Linked DNA regions of Homo sapiens: all the other regions are linked to region 2. The links are contacts of gene promoters, found by promoter capture Hi-C in blood cells and fetal thymus (Javierre and others, 2016). All regions are on one chromosome and are shown on one strand. Each heading gives the region's core, a stretch centred on a gene start or on the middle of the fragment in contact. The rest is flanking DNA. Distances are from core to core; before and after follow the strand shown. Region 1 has its middle 39 kb from the start of MIR4277. Region 2 holds the start of BRD9 (bromodomain containing 9). Region 3 has its middle 58 kb from the start of MIR4277. Region 4 holds the start of LRRC14B (leucine rich repeat containing 14B).

Region 1 (4,101 bases), core at 563-3,062, 780 kb before region 2:
GGGTGGGGCTTGAACGTCACCCGAGTCTAAGCAGCTCTCTGCCCGTGAAGCTGGGGGTGGCACAGCCCCTCTGCCCCTGAGCGACCCCACGCACACCCCTAATCTCCACTCCTCGCTCACAGACGTCATGTCAGCAGCTTGAAATGAGCCAGGGTGGGGGTATTAACACCACGGAAGTCAGCGCACACTGCAGATCAGGGCTGTCTTCCCCAGACATAGAGCTTCCCAATATTTACAATCACGCCACGGGAGTACACTAGGAAAAATATGTTGAGAGCCCGGGTGATCTTCCTCATGCATTGGAAATATAAAATTAAATCAAATTTAAAAACTAGAGGGTCAACATTTGACAACGGTTCATACATGAAAGCATAAGAATAAAACTACTATAAAGTAAATTTTAGTGACAAGTTTTTTTAGTGGCGATAATACGTACGAGTCCTTTTTAATGCTTTAACATGGGGATTGATGCCACCGTCACAGGGCAGCCACGCCCCTCGCCCGAGACTCTGGGAGTTGCTCTGCAACAGCACTTGGGAGGCCTGGGGTGCCTCCCATGGACACAGCACCATCCGTTTTCAAGCGATCACTTTAAGAGAAGCGCCATGAATGAAATCCATCAGCCACCCTAAGTTTCTCCAGCATATGGCTGGCTCATGAAAACAGAAATGCCCTCCAACTTCAACCTATGAGGCCTTGAGCCTGTTTGGGCAGGAGCTGGTGCTTCTGGTGCTGCGGCCAGATGCTGTGCCTGGTACCTCAAGCATGAAATCAAGAAAACTCTTCCAGCTCAGGTTTATGACATTACTGGTCAATGTCACAGAGGAATACAAAGCTTCTCTATCTTTCCTAACCACGCAGTCCATGCTTGGGCAATTCACTGAACAATGGCGATGAAACACCCTCATCTCTATCTCTGCACGCCAAACACAGAATTCTCTCTTGGCCCCCTTACAGGGCTGATGTATGAGCCAAACCTGGCCCAAGGAGGAGTCCCAAAAGGTTGCAGAAGAGCCGATTATCCACCCCATGATACCCACATTCCCACCCGCCTTCCATCTCTCAGGAATCAGGAATCAGAAGGGGTCTACTTTTCCCAGAAAACCTTTATTGCTTCTACCTGGGTACTTTCACTGGTCCCAGGAAGGGAGAACACATTCAGGTAGGATTAAGTTCTACTGTTTCCAAATTTGGAAAGGAAAGTTCTTTTGTCCTCCAACATTTGGGAAGGAGAAGTGATGCTTAAAAGAGAGCCCCTCAATGGAGTATCTCAAGGCTCTTCAAACAGGTGACTTCGTCTTATGAATAAATTATGGAAACTCCTTCTTCTTCCAGAGTTAGCAATGTTACAATTAATTATGTACCTGATGACAATGGATTTGGAAATATGGAAACGTGTCATGAATGTCTCAATGTGTGATCAAGACTTTTCTGTAAGTAGCTGAGTCACCATCACCAGAACCTCTTCCTCTTGCAAATGAGCCTTCAGCTGCAGACTAGACTCCCAGGATGGTGGGCAGGTCAGCTGATGGGGTGAGTGCATGTGCATGTGGGAGCCACACACGTGTGTGACTAACTGCATTTGGCACTATTTATTGTCTGTGCTTCTTTTCCTTTGTAAGAGCATTAAAAATTGACCACAGTATGTCATCATCCCAACTCTCCTTAAGAAGCTTCACTTTTCTTTCATGCTGCTAGCCTGCTGTAAGCATTTGTCTTGCTTTTAGATATTACCTAAGATAATAGAATTCCAAAGTAGACACCTACATTCTCAGCTTTTGAACTTTCCCTGTGACTTATGTGTCCTGAGCACAAGGCCATCTTTATATTGCGATGAACAGAATCTGGCTGAAGATTTCTATACACTGTCTCCTTCCCACTCCGTGCAGTGCACATCTGTGCTTGGCAAGCCTGCAATGCTCACAGCCCCTGCTTGAGGGTGGAAAGCTTCAAACACCCAGGGAGTCCTGTGCCTGAGCCAGCTTTGCTCGTCCAGGTCCAAGGTAGACAAGTGGGGTTTAGGGGTGAATGGGGGGTGGGCCCTGCTCATCACCTTCCTCAAGCTGAGAGTGCTGATGGACAGGGCCTCCACAGTACTCAGCCCTTACCCTTCACCCTTATCCTCAGCTTTACACAATGGACGTGACAAGGCAAACCCTGGCCTGAGGAAAGGGGGTCCACACTCTGTCCTGTTTCCAGGCCTGGGAACCCCCGGCTCTCTGTGTGCTGTGGAAAGGGCTGGAGGGAGCCGGTGTGCAGCTGCTGGGCTTCTGCAGATGTGCGTCCTCAGAGCTTGGTGCCCCCGGCTTTCTTTGCCGTGCCGTTCTCTGTGGCACAAGTCTTCTTTTTAGCTGAAGCCTCCTTCTGTAGACCCCAGGCCCCTCCCTGTCCTCTCCTCTGAGAGGTATGGCACTTGACTAGGCAGCCAAGAAATCCTGATGCTGGCAGGGTCCACGGGAACAGGCTGGGCAGGACCATGGTCAGGGGTCTGTCTTAGACACAGCCCTTACCAGATAGCTGAGGCCCTACAGAGGCGTAGAGGGCCAGGGAAGTCACTGCCCTACTGCCACATACCCAGGATGCATGGTTCACCATGCCCCCAGCTCTGGCACTCACACAAGCCCACAAGTTCAGGGTCCCAGCTCTCTTGCACAAACCCTGTCCCCACCCTGCTGGCTCATCATGCCTCAGATACACATGAGCCTCAGATTCATGTGGCCAGATCTTAGCCTCCTTCATCACCAGGTCTGCTGGCTGCATGCTGTGAACCCCAAAATTCTGAGACAGGTCTCAATTTAGAAAGTTTATTTTGCCAAGGTTGAGGCTGCGCAGCTGTGACAGCCTCAGGAGGTCCTGCCGACATGTACCCAAGGTGGTCAGAGCACAGCTTGGTTTTATATATTTTAGGGAGATATGGGACATCAATCAGCATGTGTAAGATGAACATTGGTTTGGTCTGGAAACGTGGGACAATTCAAAGCAAAGGCGGGACAACTCGAGGAAGGGCTTCCAGGTCAAAGGTAGGTAAGAGACAGATGGCTGCGTTCTTTTGAGCTTGTGATGAGCCTCTCCAAAGGAGGCAATCAGATCTGCATTCATCTCAGTGAGCAGGGGGAGACTTTGAATAGAAAGGGAGGCAGGTTTGCTCTAAGCAGTTCCCAACTTGACTCTTCCCTTTAGCTTAGTGATGTGGGGACCCCAGACTTATTTTCCTTTCACAATGCCCACAGCACCCATCCAGGAAGACACCTCATCATAGAGAGGGGTTCAACGTGGAGCTGGGGACACTGGTGGGGACGTGGGAGCCTCGACATTTCCTCCACAGCTGCTCACTGCCCTCGACAAGCTTGGGTCTCTGCACACAGCTCTAACCCGCAGAACACGCTGCGGGATTCCTGTGTCCCACGGTCCCCAGCGCTGGCCCTCCTCTCCCGAGGCCAACAGCGACCTTCCAGCTTTCGGAGCTTGTTGCCGCTCTGCTGTCTTCACTGGCTAGACACCCCCACACTCTCTTCCCTGTCAAGGCCACCCTCTCCTGCGGGCGGGGCTCCGTGAGTCACACTCTCACCCCCTCCCCCAACACAGCCGCAGCACGCAGCCCCCACACCTGCCAGCCCCCACGCCTCCCTGCACACCTGCTCTCTCTCAGGCAGGAGAGCTCACTGCACCTGCAAGGTAGGCAGAGGCCAGGCTGGGGAGGACACACCTAGCCCTGTCCTGCCCTCGCCCCCAGGGTGGCCAGAAAGACTGCAGAAGGTCCCCGCAGGCAGATGTGAGCACTGCGGGTTATTCCAGGCACTGCCCCAACCCCTACTGAAAAGCCCATTTTCACCACAACCCCAGGCTGGGCCACAACCCCCCGGATCACCCACGGCCGCGAGAAACCTGCAGAGCGCCCTGCAGACAGGGCAAAAGGGAACCCAGGCCCCAAGGGGGACTTCAGGCCTCCAAACCCAGAGATTTCTCTGCAAGCTCGTGCCCTTGAGGGCTGGGGGTGGGGAGCCCAGCGCCAGGCCTGGCCGCGCAAATGCTGGGGGACAGGAGCCTCCAGGGCCGGGGAGAATACCCGCCTGTCCAGGGTACAGAAGTGGAGGTCAGGGG
Region 2 (4,112 bases), core at 586-3,085:
CCACCCCTTGCCTGTGGGTCCTCTACCAGCTGTGCCCTGAAGAAGCTGTGCCTCAGCTCCCAGTTAGAAAAAGGGGACAACAGTAAGAGTTCTCGCTATGCTGGGCTACTGTGAAGTCATTAATACACTCAAAGTGTTTAGGACGATACCTGGCACATAGTAAGCACGCAATAATGTTGGCTTTCACTATTACTAATGAAGTTCCACAGCTGTGGGGTCAGGCCTGGGGTCTGCATTGTAACAAGTCTCCAATAGCCGTGATTCGTGCTGAGAAAATCTAATGCTTTCAGCTTGGTATCCAGGGCTTCCCTTGGTCCCCCTTGCTGCAGTCCTCCTAACACCTCCCCTTTCTACAACAGTGACCTGGTCCCGGATCACACCTCTGTGCCCTGCTATGCACTGTCCCAGCTTACTGGCCTGATCAACTGCAGTCACCCTCTAAGTCCTATTCAATGTCTGCCTCCCTCTGAGCCCTCCTGGACAGGCTCCTCAGAGCCAGGCAGGTGACATGTGGCCCCTTTGCAATCGTCCCAGCACCCTACAAGCAGCGACCACCATGCATAGTGCGGTTGTGTGCAGGTGTCTATGAACTCTGGTGCAGTTGTACGTAGGTGTCTGTCCTCTAGGTGCAGCTGTGCTCTGGTGTGATTATGCCTAGCGTCTCTGGGCCCAGGTGTGGTTGTACATGGGGTGTCTCTAGGCTGCGGTGGCACTGTGTACAGGTGTCTCTGAGCGCTAAGGTGTTTACACAGGTGTCGCCAGGCTGTGATGGGGCTTTGTGCAGGTGTCTCTGGGCCCTGGTGCAATTATGCTGACGTGTCTGAACTCCAGCACCTAGAAAATACCCAGTCAACAGCTATTCTGTTAAAGGAAAGGTCTCTTCCTCTGCATCCCCTCTGAGGCTGGTGGTCTCACCTGACCTCAATCCACCCTCCGTGGACATAAGGAGGGTCTGTGAAGGTCTGGCCCCGCCGCTGAGTTCCCCCCACTCCAGGGAGCAGCACAGCCCACAGGCCCCACCATACCATGAACTGACTTGGTCACAAATGAGTGGGATGTGCTTTGAACCCTAAAAATTTAACATCGAGTCCGTGAGGAACGGGAACAATTAAAGGGTCTGAGAAGCAGTGGCTCAAAGAATAACCACCCAGCTTTCGGCTGAGACTAGAGCTCTCTGTAATGCGCAGCCATCCTATTCTCCAACGTGGGACTCAGGGCCACATCAATGCACTGGAGGACAGCCGGGGCAGGGGCAGGGTCAGGGCCAGGTCCGTGAGCTGAGGTCGGGTCGGGGCTCAATCTGTGAGCTGGGGTCCTGCGCGCAGGGCTCGGGTCGGCCGGGTCAGTGCCCTGCGGTGGGGTCGCGTCATTGCGCTAGGATCCGGTCGGGGCCCGGCGGCCTGTGCGCCCGGGTCCAGTCGGGCCGGATCAGTACCCTGGGGTTCGGTCGCATCAGAATCAGTGCGCTGGGGTCGGGGCTCGGTGCACGCGCTGGGGTCGGGGCGGGTGGGTGCCCAGAGGATGTGTCGGACAGGTCCGGCTCACCTGCTGCCGCGCTGATGCACCTCCACGTGGACCGTTGGCGACTCGGCCACACAGGGAAGCGCCTGCTTCAGGTCGCCCACGGCCTCGTCCATGGCGCCCCCGAGAGCAGTGGGGACCCAACCAGGGCGCGGCCGCCGCCACCTCACGCCCAGCGTCGCCGCCACAGCCGCTGCCTCAGCCCGCGGGCCCCGCCCTAGCTTCGAATCTGCCGCGCGAGGCGCACCACCTCCTGACCCGGAAGCGCTCGGGCCCGGCAGGGCCACTTCCTGCCGCGGCCCCGCCTCGCCCCGTTTCCGGCGCGGCCCAGCGAGCTCGGCAACCTCGGCGCAGCGAGCGCGGGCGGCCAGCCAGGGCCAGGGGGCGGTGGCGGCCAAGGTCCGACCGGGTGCCAGCTGTTCCCAGCCCCCGCCTCGGGCCCGCCGCCGGCGCCGCCATGGGCAAGAAGCACAAGAAGCACAAGGCCGAGTGGCGCTCGTCCTACGAGGGTGAGGCGGCGGCGCTTTGTGACGCGCGGCGGGCGGGGTCCCGGGCACGGGGGAGGAGTTCCGGGCACGCGGACGGGGGTCCTGGGCACCGGGCGAGGTCCTGGCCACGAGGGAGGGGTTCTGGGCACGCGGGAGGGGGTCCTGGGATTTCGGGCAGGGAACCGGGCACACGTGAGGGGTCCTGGGTAGGCGCTTACGTTCCTGGTAGAGGGTTCTGGGTTCGAGGCTGCAAGCCCACTCACCCCGGTCCTGGAGACTAGGGAAGCATCTGTGCTGGCTTTTGTGTGGAGCTCAGGGAGAAGCTGGGCTGCCCTTTCTCCCGCCTTTCCCTCCCTCTCCCTTGCTCCCGCAGCAGCTCCATGGGTGTCAGCGGGCAGCACGGGCGCCTGCAGGAAGTCAGGCGAGGGTGAACCGAAGTGCTGGGGGTTTCTAGGAGGGAGATCGGGCTCCGGGGTTCCAGGTCCCTCTTAATCCATCTTCTTGAACGAGTAATGTGAACAACATCCCACAGGGCCTCTGGTGAGGACACCGTGGCTCGAAAGGGACCTGAAGCTCCCTGCGGAGGGGAAGGGAGAACAAGGAGGCAGTGACATGCCGCCACTGTGGTCTTCCCTTCCGTCTTTCCCTGCTGGTTGGCAGCCCCGCTGTACTCCTTAGGGAGGCCTTTCCCTCTTAGCACCTTCACGTCTCACCTGGCTGCGTGGCGTTTGCACCTGAGCACGCGGGTAGAACTCGGTCTGTGTCTGTGCAGATTATGCCGACAAGCCCCTGGAGAAGCCTCTAAAGCTAGTCCTGAAGGTCGGAGGAAGTGAAGTGACTGAACTCTCAGGATCCGGCCACGACTCCAGTTACTATGATGACAGGTCAGACCATGAGCGAGAGAGGCACAAAGAAAAGAAAAAGAAGAAGAAGAAGAAGTCCGAGAAGGAGAAGCATCTGGACGATGAGGAAAGAAGGAAGCGAAAGGTAAAGGAGCAGCGGCGGTGGCCCGGACGCTGCCCACGAGGAGCCCGTGGGGAGCCTGGTCCCAGGACCCAGGCAGAGTGCGCCTGCGTGGCTGGAGGAGGGGAGGGGGTGTTCCGTTGGTAGCAAAACGCGAACCGCTGAGGCCCGCAGACTCAGTTCCAGGATCCTGGGTGTGCTGTTCCTCAGCAGACCCTGCCAGGGTCTCTGTGAGGAGGGAGCCTGGCATGAGGAGGATCTCGGAGGGGGTTTCCCTTAGTTCTGTCCCTCCCCTGAGAACTGCGAGGGGATTGGGCAGACCTGTCCGGATCCCGCCTACTCCTGCCTTTCTCACTCCCTTGACTCTGCCGCCCAGGAAGAGAAGAAGCGGAAGCGAGAGAGGGAGCACTGTGACACGGAGGGAGAGGCTGACGACTTTGATCCTGGGAAGAAGGTGGAGGTGGAGCCGCCCCCAGATCGGCCAGTCCGAGCGTGCCGGACACAGCCAGGCAAGGGTGCACTTTTAGAGACTCTCCTGGTGTTCACAGCTCATCGTTGTAAATGAGGGGTCGGCACCGTGTCCTGTTGCTTTGGGGAGAAGCATGGGAGGGAGGAGAGCTGGTATTTCCAGGGCCTCATCCCAGGTGTCCTCTGGCCTGAGGTTTCCTCCGGTGTCTCTGAATGTCTAGAGCAAGGCGTGGCCAGTTACCACTGGTGCCCTTCAGTTTTGTTTTTTAACTTGTTAGCTAAGGATGGCTTATATGTTTTTTAAGCGTTCATAAAAAGAAACAAAAAGGCATCTCCACAGAGACCAATCGTATGTGACCCGCAAAGCCTAGACTGTTTTTTGTCTGGCCTTTATGTAAAAAGTTTGCCAGCCCTGGGTCTTGAAGTTTGGTTTTGTTTGCACTTAAGACAGTATTGGAACAGTAGCCCCATCTGGGTCAGACTGGTAAGAGAGATGCATGTCAGTGAAAACGCAGGTAATTCCCCTTGGGAAGAAGGGACCTCGAGGCCCAAATGGTGGGTCTGAAGTTGCTGAAAGTGACCATAGGCTGAGACAAAGGAAGCTGGAGGCCTTTAGTAGAATCTCTGTCGTGGGCACCATCTGCGAAGGATGGCATTTGGCTGGAATTTCCA
Region 3 (4,060 bases), core at 981-3,480, 760 kb before region 2:
ATCCGTCTGGGGAGTCAGGCGCGATGTGTGGCCCCCACAAGGTCCCCCCAAAAAAAAAGAACCTGAGAACGCTGGAGCACGGAGGGCCCAGAGGCGTGAGAAGCTCAGACCCCTGGACAGGGGACCCCACCCCACACGTAAGGCCACACGCCATCGGCTGACCTGGCACTCCGAGAGGACCCAGCTCCCAGTCTCCCCAGCTAGCTCTCAAAACACGAACGTCAAGTTTTCATCGGGAAACCGGCGCTGTCAGTGGCTTCCACCACCAAGCTAGCTCTGCCTGGCTGTCACCCAAATGCCAAGGGCCTGTTTTGGAAAGCATCAACCACAAGTTCCTTGTGAGGCCTCGGCGTGGCCTGCCAGGGTCCCTCCCCTCACAGAGAGACACCCGGCCCAAGCTGGCTCTTCCCCACCGCCCAAGCCTCAGCCACGCCCCATCTTCCTCGTGTCCCCCCAGCAAGTCACCAGGCTGGTGGGGGCCCAAGGAAGCAGGAGCAGAGTCTACTCTGATCGTGTTCATTCCTAAGTCCCTCCCTCCTGCCCCAACCTAAAACCCACTTGTGGGGAAGGAGGGCCAGTCCAGCCTCCAACAGGGAGGGCACTCCTGATATCCTCCCCTGGACCCTTTGCCCTCAGGGCCCCCCACACTGGGTGTGACATAGGGTGGCCCCTGGGAGCACTTGGCTGCTGTCCTGCACAGGGCACCTGGGAGACCCACAGCATCCTCCCTGCACCCGGCCCTCGCCCCACCTCACAGCATCCTGCGAGGCTGGCCAGATCCCATGGCCACACGGCCAGATCATGGATTTCCAAGCCCTGGCTCTCTCCTACATCCTGTTACACTCATGTGGTCCCTGGAGTGGGTTAGGGACAGCATGGCCAGCCTGGCCCTCTGGAGAAGCACGGAACTGTGGTGGGAGCAGGCAGAGGGACAGGCCGCCATGGATTGTTCCAGGACCCCCCATGGCGAGGGACCCCATTCTCCCTGAGAATTTATCTGTTCTTGTCCCACTCTCAGGCTCCTCCTAAGAATGGGCCCTGCCCTTCCCTTGCCCAGCACCTCCCCCACAGCCTCTGCTTGTGCACCCACCCTGCCCCACATTCGGGGGCCTGAGGAGCCCTCACCTTGAGACCCCTCCTCTCGAAAGGTCCCTGACCACCCACCCACTCCAGGCACCCCCTTCTTCCCCAGGGAACTTCCACCCTGTCTGGGCCATTGCTCCAGACCCTCCATCCCCTCATCAACCTTCGGGGCAGGAGATCAAAGAAAAACCAGGCTGCCTTGTTCTCAGCAGGAGCTCAGCAGGAGCCCAGGGCCTGGCAGAGGCTCTTCGGGTCACAGGATGAGCCAAGGAAGGGAAGAGTGACACTGTCCCAGGCCCCGAGGACCCAGGCCCCATGCCCCCATAGGCCCTGCCCCACAGGCCGGTCCTCCCCCAGCCCCACCCCTCCCCAGACCTCATCCCTCCCCAGCCTTACCCTCCCCAGCCCTGACATCTCCAGGCCACCCCTCCCCAGGCATCATCCCTCCCCAGCCTTGCCCTACCCCTGCCCTGCCCTCTGTGGCCCCCCCCTCCCCAGCCCCACCTTCCCCAGGCCTCACCCCTCCCCAGGCCTCATCCCTCCCCCAGCCCCACCCCTCCCCAGCCCTACCTTCTTCCAGCCCCACCTTCCCCAGGCCTCACCCCTCCCCATCCCCCACTCTTCCCAGGCCCTACCCTCCCCAGGCCTCACCCCTCCCCATCCCCCACTCTTCCCAGGCCCTACCCTCCCCAGGCCTCACCCCTCCCCAGGCCTCATCCCTCCCCAGCCCCGCCCTCCCCTGACCCCACTCTCCCCAGCCCCACCCTTTTCTGGCCCTGCCCTCCCCAGGACCCACCCCAGCCCTCACGGTGCGTCTGTCCAGCGAAGCTGTCTGGATCCCATGGCTGCACTGCCAGGTGGTGAGCTTCCAAGCCCTGGGCTCCCAGGACTCTGTCACTTTAGGGATCCCCTCCCACCCACCTCCAAACTCCTCATACCCCCCACCACCCTCACCCGAAGCCCCTGCTTCCCCACACCCGGGATGAACACCCAGTAATTAAGATGTTCAAGTATTTTCTTTCTTTCCATTTCTTTCTATTTACACACCTTCAAATTAAAATTGGAATAAAGTCGTCTGTATAACTTAATGCTCTCACTTAGCACGACCCTCTCATGAGTGTTTTCTCATGTTACTGGAAGTTCTTCAGCAGCACTGTCTACCTGTAGCGGCTGCCGAACACGACAGGATTTGCATTTGCCAGAATCGATTGAACTACTTCCATGAGGTTGGAAAGACGGACATTTAGGCCCTTTATTTCTTTATTTTATTTTTACCAACATTTTCTAAATGCTGCAAAATGAACACCTGGACCGTTTTGTTGTTTACTTGTTTACTCCTCCACATAGATCAGGGGTCTGCAAACGTGCTCTGCAGACAGCTAGAGAGTCAGTATTGTGCTGGGGGCGGGGACGGGGAAGATGGTCTCCACCGCACACTCTTCCTTATTCGCTAATCGTTTTCACAGTAACGGACCATTCCGAGCTCTTGGCCGTGCAGCAACAGGCCACAGAGCGGATTTTGACCACTTGCCAGTTTATCACCCTAAAGGCAGCATTGCTAGGTCAGCCACATTGGAAGGCTTCTGGTGCATATTACCAAACCCCTCTCCAGAACAAAATTATGCTGATACTTTTGCTACTAGTATCTGAAAACGCATATTCCTCTGAATATTTGCCAACATTGACTATTACTATTTTTAAGCAAATTGCTAAATTCATCGTTAAAACTCAAATTGCATCTTCCTGGGTTGTTGTGATTCTATTTCCACATCTAACTTCATTCGATTGCGCCTTCCTTCTTCCCGTAAGACCTCTAGACACTGAGGACATCAGATGTCAAAACCGTCACAGCGTGCTTCCGGTTTTTGTTGGATTTTGTTTGTTTTGTTATGGTGTTTTTTGAAGTGTCACAGGGTTTAATGTCTTTGTAATCAAATCTAAAATTTTTTGAAAAGTGTTTATTGATACATAATAATTGTACATATTTACAGGGCAGTTGTGATATTTTGATTGTGCACACAGCATGTAGTGATCAAATCAGGGTATGTAGTATATCCATCACTTGGAACATCTACTCTTTCTTTCTGTTGGGAAGATTCCAGTTCTTCTAGCTATTTTGAAATATACAGCGGACCAGGTGCAGTGGCTCACACCTGTAATCCCAGCGCTTTAGGAGGCCAAGGCAGGTGGATCACCTGAGGTCAGGAGTTCGAGACCAGCCTGGCCAACATGGCAAAACCCTGTCTCTACTGAAAACACAAAAATTAGCCAGGCATGGTGGCACACACCTGTAATCCCAGCTACTCGGGAGGCTGACAGGAGAATCGTTTGAACCCAGGAGGCGGAGGTTGCAGTGAGCCGAGATCATGCCTCCACTGCACTCCAGCCTGGAGTGAGACTCTGTCAAAAAGAAATAAAGAAAGTAAGAAAGAGAGAAAGAGAGAGAGAGAGAAAGAAAAAGAAAGAGAGAGAGAGAGAGAAAGAGAGAAAGAAAGAGAAAGAAGGAAAAGAAAGAGAGAAAGAGAGAGAGAGAAAGAAAGAAGGGAGGGAGGAAGGGAAGGAAGGAAGGAAGGAAGAAAGGAAGGAAGGAAACAGTAAATGATTGTTGCCTTTGGTCTGTGAACTGTTCTATGGAACATTGGAACTTACTCCTTCCCCTGACTGCATGTTTGTGCCCCGTAACCAGCCTCACTTTCTGTCTGCCTCTCACCCACACACCCTGCCCAGCCTCTGGGAACCACCAGCCAACTCTCTGCCTCTGTGAGAGCCACTCTTTCAGTGCCCACAAATGAGTGAGAACATGGTACATTTGTCTTTCTACCCCGGCTTACTTCCCTTAACATGACAGCCTTCAATTCCATCCATGTTGTTGCAGACGACATGATTTCATTCTTGTGTATGGCTGCAGAGTATTCCATCGCGAATAGATATCACGTGTTCTGTATCCATTCATCCATTGATAGGCACCTAGGTTGAT
Region 4 (3,968 bases), core at 1,287-3,786, 700 kb after region 2:
CCCACATCCCATATTCTGACTTGGTTGGTGTAGGGCAGCCTAGCTCTAATACAGGGGCAGTTGGAGTGAGACCTACTCTGGTTCTGAGCTAAGGGAGATCTCCAGAGCAGAACTGCATCGGGACATGGCCTCACTGTCCTCGCTGAGCCGGGGGACACAGCTGGGGTCTGCCCCATCCCAACCCTCTCCTTAGGAGGCTGCCTCACTCTTCACCCACCTGCACCTGCACCCACCTGCATGTCCCGCCCAGGACATGTCCCTCCCCACCCAGGACTGGGACCACTGCCAGGTGCCCCTGTCCCACCTGAGAAACCACGCCAGGCATGCCCCCTGCCCAAGGTCCCACCGCAGGGCACCTCTATCCCTCAGGACCCACCGCAGGGCACCCCCATCCTTCAGGACCCACCGCCAGGCATCCCCCACCAGGATCTACTGCCTGGTGCCACCCCAGGACCCACAGCCAGCCACCCCCCACCCCAGGACTCACCACCAGGTGCCCCCACTTCAGGACCCACCACCAGGCACCCCTACCACCGCCAGGCACTTCTCCCCAAAACCCACTGCCAAACGCCCCACCAGGACCCACTGCCATGTGCCCCCAGCCCCCAGAACCCACCGCCAGGCACCCCCCAGCACCTGAGGACCCACCTCTAGGTGCTTCCCCAGTACCTACCAGGCACCCCTTCCCCCTAGACCCACTGCCAGGTCCCACCCCCAGGACCCAAAACTGGGTGCCCCCCGGACCCACCGCTAGGTTGCCCCACCAGGACCCATCACCCGGTGACCCCAATACCCACCGCCAGCTGCCCCTCCTTCAGGACCCACCACCAGGCTCCCTCCCAGCACCCATTGCCAGGCACCCCGTTCCCCAGGACCCATCACTGGGCACCCCCCTTGGACCCACCGCTAGGCACTCCCCCTCCAGGATCCACTGCTGGGCACCCCCCTTGGACCCACCGCCGGGCATCCCCCTCACCACTGCCTGAGGCTGCCTTGGCCTGGCCCCTTCCTAGCTGCTGCCCTCTCTGCCTCCTTCACGCAGATCTGCTGAGAGGATCCTGCATAAGCCTCCTGTCCCACCATGGGGAGGTCCATGCAGCATGGAGCCCAGGCCTCCCTCGAGGGAGACTGGGAGGATCCCGCCCTGTCAGGCCTTCGGATGAGATGGCACCCTTGGCCAACAGCAGCCCTGAGCCAAAGGCACCGACAGGCTCAGATTTCTGAGCTGAAATCGTGTTTGCTGTTTGAAGCCCCCAAGTGTTGGGGTGAGTCGTTCATCAACAATAGACAACTCCTCACACCACGTAGGCACTTCTGTTTCGTCTGTTTGGTAATTTCCGTATTCTCTTTTTTTAACTGGCATTCTCTCCACATCCCTAAGTCACACATGGCAGCCCGCTTCTTTCCTGGTGGCTCTGACTTTCGGTGCTCTTGCCCCTTGGCGGGGCCGCTGTCCTGTGGCTGTGGCCACACCCGGAGTGAGAGGCTGGAGGCCGTGTAGCCTCATGGCCTTGGACATGAGCAGGCCCCTGGACGATCTCTCCTTGCCTCTGCAGCCACCAGCCCGCCCTCAGTCCCCTCCCCAAGACTCACCCAAGCAGCGTCGGGATCTTCCCGGTCAGCGTGGAGAAGGCCACACTGAGCTCAGTGAGCTGCGCCATCTTGCTGAGCTCCCGGGCGATGGAGGCGAGGAGGGGGTCCTCGCCGTCGGGAGTGGAGGCGTAGGTGGGGGGTGCATCAAAGGCCTTGGTGGGCAGGGTGAGCGAGGCCAGCCGGGGGAAGCCCACCTGGGCCAGAAGCTGCTGCACGTGGCCCGCATGCAGCCGCACGTTGTGCACCACCTCCAGCTTGCGCAGGGCACCCGGGCCAGCCAGACGCAGCACGTGCAGGAGCTGGCTGGGGCTCAGGCTGTCCGCCCGGAACGAGGGGCAGTGCACCCGCAGAGGGGCCGGGCCCGCTGGCCTCAGAGCCTGCACCACCGCCTCGAAGTTGCCCTCAGTGACGAAGAGGTCGGCGAGGACCTCGACGGGGCGCCCGGCTGCGAGGGGCTCTGCCTGCAGCTCACAGCAGGTCCTGGCCAGCAGCTGGGTGCGGCCCCACCTGCCCAGCGCCCTCCCGCACGGGCACCGCTGCACCTGCACATCTCGGATGCCCGTGAGGTCAGCCACCCGCAGCCGCCGGCGGCTCCGGTCCTGCAGCACGTGGTCCGCGAGGCCGCGCACCAGCGCCTCCAGGCAGGCCCTGCAGGTTCTGTCGCGCAGGTCCTGGGGGTGGTCGGCACCAGGACCCAGCAGCGCTCCCAGCCGGAACTCCTCCAGGGGCCAGCGCCCCAGCACCGCGCGCGTCACCTCCGCCTGCTCCAGCAGGTAGCTGGCTTTGAACAGGAGTGGGTAGAGGTTGTGGGCCACGCTGTCCAGGCTCTGCCGGGCCACCTGGGGGTGGGACACCAGAGCTTCTGCAGAAATGAAGCGGAGTGACCTCATTGTGTCCATGGCCCGAGACAGGACCGCTCCCCACGACTTTCCCCAAGGCGTGTGCCCTTCACGCCTATCTTTAGCTGCAGCAGCTGTGAGCAGCCTGCCCTGGGGGCCCTGCCACGGGGCCTTATGATCATCTGACTGCTATTTTGGTCCTGGGACACCTGCGTCTGCCCGGCCTCGGGGCACGCAGCCGTTGGGAGCTGCTTGGCTCAGGCACCCAGCCGTTGGGAGCTGCTTGGCTCAGGCACCCAGCCGTTGGGAGCTGCTTGGCTCAGGCACCCAGCCGACACAGAAAGGCAGCCCGTGCCCATGGCAGGGCTGGGCAGAGAAGCCTGTGCTCCATGCTGCAGAAAGCCAGTCTTGGCAGGCGTTCGTGCTGGCGGCCGGTGAGGCCAGCGGGCAGGTCCTGTTTACCATCCAAGCGGGGCTACTGCCCAGCTCTGGGCACCTCCCCCACCAGTCAACGGGGCAGAGAACAGGCCAGGCCCCTGCGCCTCACTCGGTAACCAGTTCCCTTTCCACAGTGGCCTCTGGGGCCGCTCCCACACTTCGCCTCGCATCTGGGGTGAGACGAGTGGCCAGGAATGGAGCTGCTGTTTTGCCCCTTCCCTGTGCCTTTCCTTCTCCCCAAGGACCCGGCGGGGGTGGCTTCCCTACTTTCCATGGGAGAGAGTGGCTGGGAGAGGTGGAGCCTCCCTGATGGCCTCGGATGAGCCCCCAGCTCTCTCTGAGCTGCAGTGTCCTGTCTGCAACCCTGCCGCCTGTGCGGCAGGGAAAGCTGCAGGGAATGGGATACACCTGTGTTGGGGGGCGGTGCCTGATGGTTCACTCCCAGCACTGACCGTGTTGGACAGCTGATGGGTGCTGCACTCACCTCTCCCCGTGACACTGCCACTCAGGGCAGGGTCAGCACACATCGCTGCACACATCACTGCACACATCACTACAGGGCACCACGTGTCCATGGGCTTTGGAGGGTCACGGCCATGAGACAGAGGCTGAGGGAGACTGAGAGAAGTGAGTGACGGAGACTGAGACAGAGACAGAGGGACAGAAACTAAGAGGGAGAGAGACAGAGACTGAGGGAGAGAGAAAGGGAAACAGAAAGAGACAGACTGAGAGAGAGACAGAAAGGGAGAGACAGAGACTAAGAGAGAGAGAGAGAGACTGGTAGGCAGAGACAGAGACTGAGAAAGACAGACAGACGGGGAGACAGAAAGAGAAACAGCAGTGGGAGGGGGAAGGCTGCTGAGCAAGCTTGGAGGGTGCTGGTCATGGGTGCCCCACCAGCCTCCCTGTCTGACCCTCCCCAGTTTGTTCCCTGAGCCTGAGCAATGCCTCTCCCCGGGAGGCGACCCATGCAGAAGGGACTGTGCTCCGTTGTGGGGCCCAGGCACTGTCCAGCAGGCGGAGGTGTGTGTGAAGAGGTGGGTGGGCCCTGACCCCACCCTTCAGGGGTGGCCGCCCTCGGCCAGCCGATGTGGGCCC

What was found. Contacts are between HindIII fragments. The CHiCAGO score rates a contact against its expected background, and 5 or more counts as called.
Region 1: a fragment that was not itself captured here is called in contact with the fragment with the promoter of BRD9 in region 2 in 1 of 17 cell types (total B cells); the score reaches 7.1 in total B cells.
Region 3: a contact is called between a fragment that was not itself captured here and the fragment with the promoter of BRD9 in region 2, in 3 of 17 cell types (fetal thymus, naive CD4 T cells and naive B cells). The highest score is 6.8, in fetal thymus.
Region 4: a contact is called between the fragment with the promoter of LRRC14B here and the fragment with the promoter of BRD9 in region 2, in 2 of 17 cell types (total B cells and naive B cells). The highest score is 6.3, in total B cells.

The regions. Positions count from the first base shown.
Region 1 is chr5:1,667,985-1,672,085 of GRCh38, reverse strand. No RefSeq gene overlaps it. Among named protein-coding and RNA genes, the nearest start is that of MIR4277, 39 kb to the left of the region's middle. The HindIII fragment of the contact is 274 bases long and covers 1,676-1,949 here.
Region 2 is chr5:890,524-894,635 of GRCh38, reverse strand. BRD9 (bromodomain containing 9) reads left to right here and starts at 1,835. Exons shown (of 16, transcript NM_023924.5): 1 at 1,835-2,030; 2 at 2,782-2,996; 3 at 3,349-3,481. The coding sequence starts at 1,979. It overlaps TRIP13 (thyroid hormone receptor interactor 13), which reads right to left and starts at 1,752. Exons shown (of 13, transcript NM_004237.4): 1 at 1,546-1,752. The coding sequence starts at 1,637. RefSeq lists silencers at 1,466-2,085, 2,276-2,494 and an enhancer at 1,834-2,466. The HindIII fragment of the contact is 13,625 bases long and covers 1-4,112 here.
Region 3 is chr5:1,649,300-1,653,359 of GRCh38, reverse strand. No RefSeq gene overlaps it. Among named protein-coding and RNA genes, the nearest start is that of MIR4277, 58 kb to the left of the region's middle. The HindIII fragment of the contact is 4,657 bases long and covers 1-4,060 here.
Region 4 is chr5:190,063-194,030 of GRCh38, reverse strand. LRRC14B (leucine rich repeat containing 14B) reads right to left here and starts at 2,536. Exons shown (of 2, transcript NM_001080478.3): 1 at 1,594-2,536. The coding sequence starts at 2,492. It overlaps LOC124900929 (a long non-coding RNA gene), which reads left to right. Exons shown (of 2, transcript XR_007058670.1): 2 at 1,043-1,303. RefSeq lists an enhancer at 2,822-2,871. The HindIII fragment of the contact is 5,007 bases long and covers 1-3,739 here.